Linked DNA regions of Homo sapiens: regions 1 and 2 are each linked to region 3. Evidence: promoter capture Hi-C in human tissues and cell types (Jung and others, 2019). All regions are on one chromosome and are shown on one strand. The core of a region is centred on a gene start or on the middle of the fragment in contact, and the rest is flanking DNA. Distances in the headings are between cores, read along the strand shown. Region 1 has its middle 10 kb from the start of CDC23. Region 2 overlaps PKD2L2 (polycystin 2 like 2, transient receptor potential cation channel). Region 3 holds the start of PAIP2 (poly(A) binding protein interacting protein 2).

Region 1 (2,782 bases), core at 120-2,619, 1.1 Mb before region 3:
GCGAAACCCTGTCTCTACCAAAAACACAAAGATTGGCCAGTCTCATAACCCAGTCCCTAAATAAATAGATTAAAATTTTTTTTAATTAAAAAAATTTAATAAAAAACAATAAATACATCAAAAGGCAGTGATGTAATGAAGAATTAAGAAGTCACTGTCGGCCAGGCACCATGACTCCTACCTTGGGAGGCCAAGGTGGGTGGACTGCTTGAACTCAAGAGTTCATGACCAGCCTGGACAACATGGCAAAACCCTATCTCTATAAAAAAATACAAAACTTAGCCAGGTGTGGTGGCATGCTCCTATAATCCTAGCTACTCAAAAGGCTGAGGCAGGAGAATCTCTTGAGCCCAAGAGGTCAAGGCTGCAGTGAGCTGAAATTGCACCACTGCACACCAGCCTGGCTGACTGATTGAGACTCTATCTCAAAATAATAAAGAATAAGAAGGGGCTGGGCGTGGTGGCTCATGCCTGTAATCCCAACACTTTGGGAGGCCGAGGCTGGTGGATCATGAGATCAGGAAACCGAGACCATCCTGGCCAACATGGTGAAACCCCATCTGCACTAAAAATACAAAAATTAGCTGGGCGTGGTGGCACATGCCTATAATCCCAGCTACTCTGGAGGCTGAGGCAGGAGAATCCCTTGAACCAGGGAGTTGGAGGTTGCAGTGAGCTGAGATCGCACCACAGCACTCTAGCCTGGTGACAGAGCGAGACTCCGTCTCAAAAAAAAAAAAAAAAAAAAAAAAAAGAATAAGAAAGAAAGCACTTCAAGCTTCTAAATACCACTCCCAAGTTTGTCACACATGACAACGTCGCGAACAACTTTATCCAGTCGCGTGCTGCCCCACTGAATGTTCTCCAGCGTTCCTTGGGGGCTGTAGTCTGGTCAAGGCTGATCCTCACCTAAAGTCCTTCCTGGAAAAAACTCAATTGCCTTTTTCTTCTGTGATCCCGGCTTTGTCCGACAGATGGAACCATTCCCTCCCTCCCCGCTCTTCAAAGGGCTTGACCGGAAAAGGTGTTTGCTCAAGAGCGATGTGGGACCAGACACCAGAGACCAAAGTAGAGAGAGGCTAAAGAACTTACTAAATCTAAGCCCGATGAGAACTGAAAGAACAGTCAGTTCCCAGCAAGGTTTCTTGACTTAGGCATTATTGATATTTTGAGCTGGTTAATTATTTGTTGGAGGTGGCAGTGGGTAGGAAGGAGGTGGGTGCTGTCCATGTATTCATTTAACTACAATTTATCTAGTTGTTACTATGTGCCAAGCTCTGGGAATAGACTGTTGAATGAAACAGTCAATTCCTGCACTCAGACATTTTTTTCTAGTGGGGGAGAAAGATGATAAACAATCATACAAAGAATTATGTAACAACAGTTACCATAAGTGCAGTGAAGGAAAAGCTTAAGAAGCTATGATAGGAGGCCTGTGCCAGGCTGTGGGCAAAGATGGCCATAAGTCCTCCATCCCTGGATATGTGCCCCTTTACAATATGACTTTGCATCAAGCGGTGAGTCTGTGTCCCTGCCTTTGAATCTGTGTTAGCCCTGTGACTTGCTTTAACCAATAGAAAGCAGTGAAAGGGATGTTATGTGACTTCTGAGCCTCAGTTTCAAGGGACCTTGCAACTTTAACTCTTGCCCTCTTGCTGCCCTGAAGGAACCAGGTTAGCCTCTTAGCTGTCCCAGATATTCCAGCTGTCCCAGTGGTTCCCACCATTCCGGCTGAGGCTTCAGATAGATGAGTGAGGCTATGCAGGAACAGCCAGCACCCAGTCAACCTGACAACTGACTGCAGCTGCAGAAGTGACCCCAGGCAAGACTGAACCCAGTCAGAATTGCAGAAAAATGAGCAAATACATGGTTGGGGGTTATTATGCAATGATAGACAACCAATACAAGGCCCTAACCTGGTCTAGGGCTAGAGGAGTGGATCAGAGGAGGCTTCCTTGAAGAAATTAGTCCAGCTAAGACCTGGAGATAGACCTAGAGTCAGCCCGGTAGAGCATAGGGGAAGAGCATTCAGGCAGCAGAGACAGCAGGTTAAGAACTATATGTATCTGAGGACCTAAGCAGGGAACTATATGTATCTGAGGACCTAATCAGGCAACACCAGATGGTCTGAAGAGAAGAGAGCCCAGCAGTATAGACAATGACCAATGAGCGGTGTGCTGTACTTAACCCATCACCCACCTCCATTCCCAAACTGACTTTTAGTTTTTGTTTTTTTATCACATTCTGGATACATCCATGGGCCGTGTCAAGCATGTAAATTTCATCTACTATGTATGTTGAAAAATTAAAGAGTTGAAAATACCTGTGGACATTAACCTGTCTCCTAGAAGCTAGGAAAAGGTTGAGTTACAGTCTTTTGGGGATGAACAATATGAAGATGACAAAGCAGGCTGAGCACGAGGAAAAAATGTATTTTTAATAGTTGTGATGACCATCAAAGCTATTATGACCCCATCTTCACTGATCTAAGCTCATACTTAAATGGAAATTTACTTGAAAAGCCCTTTCTTTGCATAATGGAAAGGCAGGCTTGTCCAATTCCATCTCCCCAAGGTAATGGCCCTAGGATGTAATGGGAGGCCTCACTGCCAGCTCTGCTCATCGGGGGCTCTCAGCCTTGTGTAGCCCAGCTTTGGTAACCCCCCTTCCCAGTGTCCTTTATCCCTATTACTCAGTAAAGTTCCCCTAAGGATGCCTCACCTCCAAGGTTACTGCTGAGAACCTTTAGAAAGAGGGAGAATTGATGGGGCTGACATCACTG
Region 2 (2,850 bases), core at 204-2,703, 1.4 Mb before region 3:
AATCTAACAGCACACAATAATATATGAAGATTCAGATAGTATTTATTTTAGGCATGAAAAGATGGTTCAAAATTGGGTAATCAACTAATCAACGTAATTCATTGCATTAAAAAAGGAAAACTGCATGATCATTTTCCACAAATGCTGGGTATTTTATAAGTTTCAACACCCAATCTTGAGGGGAAAAATAAAAATCAATGATATTTCCTTGATATGATAAAAACATTGATCTTATCCTCTTCACCTTACTTAATAGGAAAACATTGAACATGTCAGGGACAAGATAGTGATGTATTGGAGGGGTAAAGTCAAAACAATTAGATAAGAGAACTACATTAGAGGTATTTCTAATTGAAAAAAGTAAAACTGCCTTTACTTATGATTCTCTTCAATTTTCTAGGTATATGATGATCTGAAAAATTACAATAAAAAGATAATTAGGTAAACTGGTAGGAAAAATAATTTACATAAATGTCATATATGCAAACATCAATTGGTTTGGTAAAAATTATAATAGAAGACCTTATTTGTAACAGCAACAAAGTAGAAAATGCCCAGCAATTAACAAAATGTTCAAAACCAAGATAAAAAACTTTAAACATTCCTTAAAGACACAAAAATACCGGGCATGGTGGTTCATACCTGTAATCCCAGCACTTTGGGACACTTGAGGCGGGTGGATCACTTGAGGTCAGGAGTTTGGTGAACATGGTGAAACCCCATCTCTACTAAAAAATACAAAATTAGCCAGGCGTGGTGGTGTGCACCTGTAATCCCAGCTACTTGGGAGGCTGAGGCAGGAGAATTGCTTGAACCCAGGAGGTGGAGGTTGCAGTGAGCCAAGATCACGCCACTGCACTCCAGCCTGGACAACAAGAGCGAAACTCTGTCTCAAAAAAAAAAAGACACAAAAATACACCTGACCAAATGAGAAAACGTACTACATCTAACAATCAGAGCCCACTCAGAAAGAAACCATAATATGTATTTCAAATAGAGAAAATATACTACAGTGAATTGATTACTACACAGGTATTAAAAGACAGAAAAAAGTGAAATGATAACACTGAGACAACTCATAAATAATGACTGCAGGAAGAGGTTACCACTCCTAGGGCTAAGATTACAAAAGGTGGTGTTACTAGAACCTACTATCTTAGAGAAGGGGCTTGTGGAGCTGTTGCTCAGTCCTGTGATGAGAAGGTACCTCACTGCTGCTGCTGATAAAGGTTAAGTATTCTTTATCCAAAATGCTTGGGACCCAGAAGTGTTTTAGAGTTCAGATTTTTTTTGGATGTTGGAATATCTGCATTATATACCTACTGGTTCCGCATTCCTAATTCAAAAATTTGAAATCCAAAATGCTCCAGTGAGCATTTCCTTTGAGAGTCATCGAGGTGCTAAAGTTTTGGATTTTGAACACTTCAGATTTCCGATTAGGGATACTCAATCTGTACTTCTTGAGTGGGTGTGATGAGGCTGCTTCTGAGTATGCCAAAAGCAGCTAGATGCTACAGCTAGAGCCACTGTTGCTGGAGATAACTACCATTGCATAAGCAGTGCCAATAGAAACAGAACAAAAAACAAAACAAACCAAAAAAAAAAAAAAAACCCACGACCTTTCTCCCCTCTATCCTGCAAATACTGGCAGAATCTAACAGGAATCCAGGTATTAACAGTTTAGGGAATGAAGCTTACAAAGCCTAAAACCCAACATCACAGAGTATAAGAGGGTAAATTTTGAGCTGAACAGTTGGTCCATTCCACTCCTGTGGCATACACATTTGCACTTCCATAAAATGATGATTCCAAGCTTCTATCCAGTAAGATCAAACTATCCTTTATACAAATGAAGGTACTTTCACCTTCTCCCTAAAAAGGGAGAAGCAAAGTCCCAACAGTAATTGTATCCATCTGTGGATATTATGACCTCTTCTAGTTGAATCACAATTCCTTAAGAATACTTTGCAACCTAATGTTTAAACTACAGTTAGCCACCACCAGTATTCCTTAGATAAAGGAGAAAGAAAATATACACATAACAAGCAAAGAAGGAAATAGGAATAGGGCTACAGTCTTTGTTTCTGTAACAGATTACAAGGCTACAGTTGGTATTTATAACTTCCTTCTCCTACCCATTCCGTATCATTCCCTTTGCCTACAGCCAAGAGCTCAGCCAGCTGCATTAGGAATAACCTTAATTAGTTCAGAATCTGAACTCTCAGTGGTCCTGCCTTTAACAGAATGCTGTGGTTTCCCATTACCTTTTACTTTTGGACATCTAAGTATTAAGAGGCATACCAGAGAATCCCTTGGGCACAGTCTGCTCTGTGCTAGTTTGTGGCAGTAATCCAATTTCCCCTTGGTAATTCGCATCAATCACCTCAACACATAAATAACCACTTCTTTCCCTGCTGGTTCTGTAGGCATGAGGAATCCCAAACGGTCAAGTGGCAGTCTCAAATTCAGTTTAAGTCAATTGTTGTGCCCCTTGGTGGAAGCATGCAATCTATGAGGGTCTATTTCTTTGGGTCTCCCCTGCTACCAATTATTCATCAGTTAAGAGTTGTCAGAAAAACAGAAATCACTTAGGTAATTTAAAAAGAGGGAGTTTGGTATACAGAATTTGCTTCTGAGATATTGCAGGAGTGTAAGGGCCAATATGAACATGAAGATCATCCAGAGACAACTAACTGCAGGAGGCAGCTACCACAAGGGAAGGTGGTAGGGCGAGCAGGACGTAGGAGCTTGGAGCAAGGGTCACCAAAGAGTTGGTGCTCAGCTTATGAGGAAAGGTACCACTTTCCTCTAAGTGTCAAGGAAGGCTTCACAAAAAGAGTGATGGCTGAG
Region 3 (2,739 bases), core at 43-2,542:
ATAGTTTTTAAAAGATTCAAATTTTTCAGGAGAAAAGGATAGTTATTTGCACCCATTTCCTAGTCGGTCATTTGCCCTCTCCAAAGGGAAGAAATTAGTTTGTGTCCCTTTTTCAAAGATAGTATCTACACATTTGAACATCCAGATTTGTAAAACACATACTCTCGGCCGGGTGCGGTGGCTCACACCTGTAATCCTAGCACTTTGAGAGGCGGAGGCGGGTGGATCACGAGGTCAGGAGATCGAGACCATCCTGGCCAACACGGTGAAACCCCTATCTCTACTAAAAGTACAAAAATTGGCCGGGTGTGCTGGCGTGCGCCTGTAGTCCCAGCTACTTGGGAGGCTGTGGCAGGAGAATCTCTTGAACCCGGGAGGCGGAGGTTGCAGTGAGCCGAGATGGCGCCACTGCACTCCAGCCTGGGCAAGAGAGCCAGACTCCGCCTCAAAAAAACAAAACAAAACAAAAAAACAAAAACATACTCTCTTCTTTACATTGCTTAGTGTCACTAGAAATATATCTTGGGGCTTGTCAACGATGACAGGAAGGAAGCATGGGTAAGAATAACTATGGGGCCAGTGCACCCAGGATCACGGACTACAAAATTCTTGAACCCGGAGGTCACACTTTTCTATCCTGTGTGGACAGGGCATTTCCTCCTTTAGCCACAAAGAAGTTGCACATGTATTTGTATTTTGCGTTTGCATCCAGCTTCAAAAAGTGTGTTTTTGTGCCTGCACATGTCTGAGTGCGGATGTTTGCATATCATTTAGTACGCCTCTGTGATTTCCCTTAGTTTATTATTTTTCTGTGTCAGGATCTTGACGTGACTCGGTGCATGTCGCTGTTTGTGTGACATTGTGTATCATTCTTGGGGTGTGTATGGGTATGTGTGTGCTATGTCATTACCTAAATATTACGTTTTTGGGGGGGTGTGTGATGTCTGTGAAAGTCCACGCCTGTGTATCTTGTCAGGGTGCTCTTCAGTCCCCAGCTGCCTCACTCATTGCATATCATCATTCTCGGAAGATGGGCGGGTGTGGGAACAGTGGTACGCCCCCATTCCTGCCTTCCAGAGAGAACGTGCGACAGCGTTCCTGCTACACCCGGCAGCCGGCCGTAGGGGCGCGCTGGAAAGGCTGCTGCGCGTGCACACGTGTGCAGCCTTGGAGACAGACTTCGGGGTCGCGCGTTCTCGCGCGCGCTCTCTAGTGGCTTCGGAGGGCAGAGCTGACAGAACAAGAGGGCGGGGTTGGCGGCGACGGAAGTGAAGTCACTTCCGGGCTGGGGTGTTTGTTTGGACTGGAGAAGGGAGGCGGCGGGCGAAGCGCACGTCGAGCGGGGGAGCGGCGCTGCCTGTGGAGATCCGCGGAGGCCGACAGGATTCGTTGGCTGCCGTCCCCGCTGCTGTGCATTGGGTGAGGGGTCCTCTCGGGCAGAGTGGCGACAGGGGTGCGGAGGTCGAGGGACAGCAAGTCGGCGACGGCAGAGGGGCCTAAAGGGTTCCCTGGGTGGTTGGCCACCGAGTCCATTGCGGCCTCCGTTGTTCATTGCCTCTTTCCACCAAGTCTGAGGGATGAGCTTGGGCCGACTTCGTCTCTGTCTTCTCCGAGACATGGCCGTCGCTTTTTTTTCATTGTCATTATTAATGATTTGGATCTCGCAGCTCTCTATCCGGGTCCTCAGTGGCGCGAGGGTTGCCGGGATAGCACTTTCTCCTGTTCCTCATTCTCCCGGTCCTTTATCCCTCCGCCGGGTACCCTTTCCCCTGCCCCCCTCCCACCGCCTCGGCAACAAAGCTTATTGTTTCTACCCACTTTACGCCTGCGCGTCGCCACGCGCAGCCCCTACTTGCTGCGCGTGCGCGCCTCAGCCGAGGCTGGGGTTTGGGGAGAGAGGGGCGGAGGGACTGGCGGGCTCTTGGCGTCTTGGGGGAACGCTGCAACCGTCGACGGGCCTGATCAGAAGATCGTCTTTCTCCCGTTTCTTCGCCATCGCTACCCCTTATTTTTGGTTGTATTGCAGCTCATGCCCTGGAAAAAAGAACCTTTGGGGTACTGGGAACCCTTACCCTAGGAGGGCGTTGAGTTAGATGAACTTTAAGGTCCTCTTACCTTTTAATAATTTTCTGTGCTTACTCTCCTCCTTCCCCACCATCGCCACCAGAAATAAATAAGGCTTGTGGTGAACTTAGGTCTTCAAAACATTTGTTGCAGCAGCCAGCAGTGATATTTTTTAGGGACTCCTAAAAGGGGTCTTACCTGCTTCCTTTTGTTTCTTTTTTCCCTGATTTGGCACCCGTATCAACTCATAAAAACCCCAAACTCTAGAAAGAATTTGGCTTCCAATTTGCCTTGGAAGGTGTAGCAGCTGACAGCCTTTGACGTTTATTTCAACGGAAAGTAGATGTTCATGTTGGGTGTGCTGGCTAATGTTGAAACGTGGTGGCATTGTTTTTTCACAGATTTCATTAGCACAGTTAGATCAGGTGTTGGTTTATATTTTCATTAAGTCGCTTTTGAAATTTCTTCTGGCGTAGGTTGTGTTTGCAATAAGTAAAAGTTCTCTACAATAATTTTTAATGAGACTCCACTATTTGCTTTTGTGATTCTGTTTCCAGTTAGTGAAAGACAGGATATTTGGGGAAAATTAGTCTGTTTATACTACTTGTCAGTTGTGAACTTGAATAAAACTTTTTCACACACACACAAAATCACAGGATAGGTAACTTGACAAGA

What was found. Contacts are between HindIII fragments. The study calls those that stand out against the background at their distance.
Region 1: a contact is called between a fragment that was not itself captured here and the fragment with the promoter of PAIP2 in region 3, in 1 of the 25 tissues and cell types used here (heart left ventricle).
Region 2: a fragment that was not itself captured here is called in contact with the fragment with the promoter of PAIP2 in region 3 in 1 of the 25 tissues and cell types used here (hippocampus).

What each region holds. Positions count from the first base shown.
Region 1 is chr5:138,221,990-138,224,771 of GRCh38, forward strand. No RefSeq gene overlaps it. Among named protein-coding and RNA genes, the nearest start is that of CDC23, 10 kb to the left of the region's middle. The HindIII fragment of the contact is 4,119 bases long and covers 1-2,782 here.
Region 2 is chr5:137,931,456-137,934,305 of GRCh38, forward strand. All of the region lies in intron 12 of PKD2L2 (polycystin 2 like 2, transient receptor potential cation channel), which reads left to right. Among named protein-coding and RNA genes, the nearest start is that of PKD2L2, 43 kb to the left of the region's middle. The HindIII fragment of the contact is 3,022 bases long and covers 1-2,850 here.
Region 3 is chr5:139,340,562-139,343,300 of GRCh38, forward strand. PAIP2 (poly(A) binding protein interacting protein 2) reads left to right here and starts at 1,293. Exons shown (of 4, transcript NM_016480.5): 1 at 1,293-1,419. The HindIII fragment of the contact is 8,924 bases long and covers 1-2,739 here.